Linked DNA regions of Homo sapiens: region 1 is linked to region 2. Evidence: promoter capture Hi-C in 16 types of primary human blood cells and fetal thymus (Javierre and others, 2016). All regions are on one chromosome and are shown on one strand. Each heading gives the region's core, a stretch centred on a gene start or on the middle of the fragment in contact. The rest is flanking DNA. Distances are from core to core; before and after follow the strand shown.

Region 1 (2,700 bases), core at 75-2,574, 270 kb before region 2:
ATAAAGCTACATACTGGTGGCAAAGTGAAAGACACACAGAACAGGTGGAAGAAGCAAAAAGAAAATGTCCAAGTAGGCAAAATGCAGCAAGAGGATAAAAAGAGAAAAGGGAGTTTGGACAAAAACCGAAAAGTCCAAAGCTGCAAGGTTATTATTATGAAACACATAATGTGTCTCCTTGGTATGTGAGGTACTTTATTGATGATGTAAAAAATGAAGCTCAGCTCTTGAAGAGCTAGAAAATTTAAGAAGTATCTTTTTTTAAACCATATAAAAGATATAATGACTAAGTCCATTATGATACATCCTTAACATGGAATACTCTGTAGTTATTTAAAATGTTATAGAAGGTCATTTAATGTTATGGAAATATGTTACAGGAATATATTTCTCTAAACAAAGAAGATTACGAAATATATAGAGAAGGGTCTCAATTTGTTAAAAATATAAAATAAAAGAAGCAACAAAAATATATAATATAAAAATTCAAACATTGGTTATCTCTGGGTAATTTATTCTTTTCCTCTTGGTGAATTTTGACTTTGTCTCCTAAATGTTCAACAATAAAAATTGTTACTTTTTCCTTTTGAACCATCACAATATCTAAAACTTTTTCATCACCTGAAATAGAAACTTTGTAGCCATTAAGCAATAATTCTCCATTCCCTATGCTCCCCACGGCCCTTAATATTCTTTCTGTCTATATAAATGTATCCATTCTAGATACCTAAGTGGAAAAAATACAATATTTGTCCTTTCGTGACTGGCTTATTTCACTTAACATGTATTTTCAAGGTTCATCCACATTGTAGAATCAGAACTTCATTTTTTTTTTTTTGGAGACAGGGTCTCACTCTGTCCCCCAGGCTGGATGGCAGTGGTGTGATCACAGCTCAAGCAATCCACCTGCCTCAGCCTCCTGAGTAGCTGGGAGTACTAAGTAAGCCTAACTGACAACATCCTATACAGTGATAATGAGTTTATCACTGCACGTGTTACCATACCAGGTTGATTTTTTTTTTTTTTTTTTTTTTTGAGACAGAGTCTCCCTCTGTCATCCAGGCTGAAGTGCCATGGCATGATCTCGGCTCACTGCAACCTCTGCCTCCCAGGTTCAAGCGATTCTCCTGCCTCAGCCTCCCGAGTAGCTGGTACTACAGGCATGCGCCACCATGCCCAGCTAATTTTTTGTATTTTTAGTAGAGATGGGGTTTCACCATGTTGGCCAGGCTGGTCTCGAACTCCTGACCTCAAGTGATCCGCCCGTCTTGGCCTCCCAAAGTGCTAGGATTACAGGCGTGAGCCACCGTGCCCAGTTTTTTTTTTTTTTTTTTTTTTTTGAGATGGAGTCTTGTTTCCATTGTGCAGGCTGGAGTGCAGTGGCACGATCTTGGCTCACTGCAACCTCTACCTCCCAGGTTCAAGCGATTCTCCTTCCTCAGCCTCCCGTGTAGCTAGGGTTACAGGTGTGTGCCACCAAACTTGGCTAATTTTTTTTGTATTTTTAGTAGAGATGGGGTTTTGCCATGTTGGCTAGGCTGGTCTCGAACTCCTGACCTCTGCTGATCCACCCACCTCGGCCTCCCAAAGTGCTAGGATTACAGACATAAGCCACCATGCCTGGCCGCCATTTTGTATTTTTTTCTAGAGATGCAGTCTTGCTATGTTGCCCAGGCTGGTCTTGAATTCCTGGGCTCAAGTGATCCTCCCATCTCAGCCTCCCAAAGTGCTGGGATTAGAGGCATGAGTCACTGTACCAGCTTTCATTTCTTTTTGTTTGCTGAATAATATTCCATTGTATGGCTATACCACATTGTTTATCCATTCATCTGTTGATGGACACTTGGGTTATTTCTACCTTCTGAATATTGTGAATAATACTGTCATATATTCACATACAAGTTTTTGTGTGAACATCTGTTTTCCATTCTTTTAAGTATATACCTAGGAGTAGAATTGCTGGATCATATGTTAATTCTGTTTAGCTTTTTGAGGATCCACCAAACTGTTTTCCACAATGGCTTGTACTCATTTTATGTTCCAACCAACAGTTCTCAAGGGTTCCAATTTCTCCACATCCTCTTGAACACTTTTTATTTTCCACATTTTTGATAACAACCATCCTAGTAGGTATGAAGTGGTAATTCATCATGGTTTTTATGTTCATTTCTCTTATAATTAATGATTCTGAGCATCTTTTCATGTGATTATTGGTCATTTAGATATCTTCTTTGGCAAAATGTCTATTCAAGTCTTACGCGCATTTTTGAATTAGGTTGTTTGGGTTTTTCATTGTTGATCTGTAGGAGTTCTTTATTCTAGATATTAATCACTTATCAGATACACGATTTGCAAATATTTTCTCTCATTCTATCTTTATTCTCTTGGTAGTATCCTTTGATAAACAAAAGTTATTAGTTTTGATGAAATCCAATTTATCTAATTTTTCTTTTGCTGGCTTGTGCTTTTGGTGTCATAGCTAAAAAATCAGGCATTACTTTTGAAATAATAAAATAATTTCAAAAATTAAAAAAAAAAATCAGAGGAAAAAACAGTTGCTAGTTGTGGGGCAGAAAATGTAGGACGCCGAGTGCAATGGCTCATGCCTGTAATCCCAGCATTTTGGGAGGCTGTGGTAGGCAGATCACTTGAGCCCAGGAGTTCAACACCAGCCTAAGTAACATGGTGAGACCCCATCTC
Region 2 (2,713 bases), core at 124-2,623:
TAGTAGAGACTGGGTTTCACCATGTTGCCCACGCTGGTCTCGAACTCCTGAGCTCAGGCAATCTGCCTGCCTCGGCCTCCCAAAGTGCTAGGATTACAGGTGTGAGCCACCATGCCTGACCGATTCTGTTTTATGTATGGTATTTAGAGAGTGAAAATCACTCCCCAGGGGTGTTGTGAGTAATTAGAAGGTAAGCATAAAGATAGAAAAAAATTATGACCCTTTATCCTAGAGTTATGCTCACTGTGTGACAGCGATGTGGTCTTACCACATTTGGCAGGGTCTTTTCGTTTCGTTTCGTTTCATTTCATTTCCTTGCCTTGCCTTGCCTTTCTTTTCTTTTTTCTTTTCTTTTCTTTCTTTCTTTTCTTTTCTTTCTTTCTTTCTTTTTTTTTTTTGAGACAGGATCTCGCTCTGTCGCCCAGGCTGGAGTGCATGGTGTGATTATGGCTCACTGCAACCTCTCCCTCCTAGGCACAAGCAATCTCCCGTCTCCTGAACTCAAGCCATCCTCCCACCTCAGCCTCCCGAGTAGTTGGGATTACAGGAACATGCCACTGCACCCGGCTAATTTTTGTATATTTTTTGTAGAGACGGGTTTCACCGTGTTGGTCAGGCTGGTCTCGACCTCCTGGGGTCAAGCGATCTGCCCGCCTCGGCCTCTCAAAGTGCTGGGATTACAGCCATGAGTCCCCGCTCCTGGCAGATTTGGCAGATTATTTAGGAGCTCTGACACCATTCGGTTCTCAAGAAGACGTTTTATTAGTTTCTTTTTATGTGTGTATGTATATACAATCCCCCTAGTTTTTGTTTAGTCTCACATCATCCTAAAGACATTTAAAAAAACCCTTGTAAACAAGTTGTATTAGCTTCCTTTTCCCCATTCCATAGAATTGTTTTAGTATGGATGCTGTACAAAGAGTTCATGCCTGGGGGACTAAAGGAAAGTTCTCAAGTTCTTTTAATTTTGATTTGCATCAAAAAGTCCGCTTAATTTCAGGTTTCACCTCCAGGAGTCAATCATTATGGACTTAAAGCTATAGTAACTTTTGAAGATCGTTTGTAATTCGCTGTCTTTGCTAGGTTTTCTTTTCTAAGCAGGCTCATTTCTGTAGTTCAGAAACTTAGCACCCACTAGTCGGGTACCCCTGGAGAGTCCTGGTACCGCCCACCTGGGGCGCCTACGAATCCTAGGCCTTTGCGTGTTGATGGACGGATTCGCGCTGCAAGAAGCCTCGCCGCTGTCACCACTGGGCATTGGCAATTGGTTCAGGGGGAACGGCGCGGAACCAATGGGAGCGGTGGCTCGGGAGAGACCTTGGAGCGCGCGGGAAAGAGACCAATATAAACTGTGGCGGGATAGTTTTCGGGTCCTTGTCCAGTGAAACACCCTCGGCTGGGAAGTCAGTTCGTTCTCTCCTCTCCTCTCTTCTTGTTTGAACATGGTGCGGACTAAAGCAGACAGTGTTCCAGGCACTTACAGAAAAGGTGAGGCGATCGAGTGTGGTACTGGAGGGCGGGGGGGTCCTCCCGGCAGCCTGGCCACGGGCGACAGACGCCAGAGGTCCCCCTGGGCCCTGTGCGCCAAACTCATCTAGCTAGCCAGGGAGTAGCCGCCTGGCCCCTTTACCTAGAAGAGGAAGTCGCAGGGGCAGGGTAAGGTTATCCTGCTGTTCTGGATCGCCAGGCTCTCCTCTCCAAGCTGCTGGGGTCCAGGACTCGGTGTCGGAACCCTCCTGCCCCTTCTGAACACCCTTTTTTGCCTCTCTTCACAGTGGTGGCTGCTCGAGCCCCCAGAAAGGTGCTTGGTTCTTCCACCTCTGCCACTAATTCGACATCAGTTTCATCGAGGAAAGGTAAGAAGAGCCCTCCTAAAGTTAGGGGATCAGTCCTGGCACCTGCAAGCCCCTGGCTTGCCATGAATTTCTTTTTCTTGAGGTACTCACGCCCGAATTTCTTCCTTGCCCTGTGATATAATAAGAGAGGCTGGGCCTTTTGGCCGGCTAGGGTAGAGGTGGGGGGGAGGTCTCATGGAAGGGAATTTCAAGCCTTGGAGTTAAGGACCGACACACCTTATCTTCAAGCCTATTTTTCTTTTCTTTTCTTTTTTTAGACAGGGCCTCTCTTTGTTGCTCAGGTTGGAGTGCAGTGGTGCAATCACTGGTCACTACATCCTCCACTTATGGGGCTTAAGCAATCCTCCCACCTCAGCCTCCAAAGTAGCTGGGGCTACAGGTACATGCCACCACGCCGGGCTTTTTTTTCTATTTTTTGTAGAGATGGGGGTCTCACTATGTTGCCTAAGCTGGTCTCAAACTCCTGGGCTCAAACAATCCTCCTACTGGGATTACAGGCATGAGCCACCACAGCCAGCCTATCAATTTTTGTTTTTTGGTTTAGTATTTTCCTTTTTCTTTCTCTTTCTTTTTTTGAGACAGAGTCTTGCACTGTTGCCCAGGCTGCAGTGCAACGGTGTGATCTTGGTTCACTGCAACCTCCGCCTCTCGGGTTCACACGATTCTCCTGCCTCTGCCTCCTGAGTAGCTGGGATTACAGGTGCACGCCACCACACCCAGCTAATTTTTTTGTATTTTTAGTAGAGATGGGGTTTCACTATGTTGGCCAGACTGATCTCAAACTCCTGACCTCATGATCTGCCTGCCTCAGCTTCCCAAAGTGATGGGAACACAGACGTGATCCACCACGCCCAGCT

The links. Contacts are between HindIII fragments. The CHiCAGO score rates a contact against its expected background, and 5 or more counts as called.
Region 1: a contact is called between a fragment that was not itself captured here and the fragment with the promoter of PCLAF in region 2, in 1 of 17 cell types (total CD4 T cells). The highest score is 5.1, in total CD4 T cells.

What each region holds. Positions count from the first base shown.
Region 1 is chr15:64,645,275-64,647,974 of GRCh38, reverse strand. All of the region lies in intron 3 of ZNF609 (zinc finger protein 609), which reads right to left. Among named protein-coding and RNA genes, the nearest start is that of OAZ2, 57 kb to the left of the region's middle. The HindIII fragment of the contact is 5,059 bases long and covers 1-2,700 here.
Region 2 is chr15:64,380,101-64,382,813 of GRCh38, reverse strand. PCLAF (PCNA clamp associated factor) reads left to right here and starts at 1,373. Exons shown (of 4, transcript NM_014736.6): 1 at 1,373-1,488; 2 at 1,776-1,856. The coding sequence starts at 1,443. RefSeq lists an enhancer at 1,202-1,712. The HindIII fragment of the contact is 13,260 bases long and covers 1-2,713 here.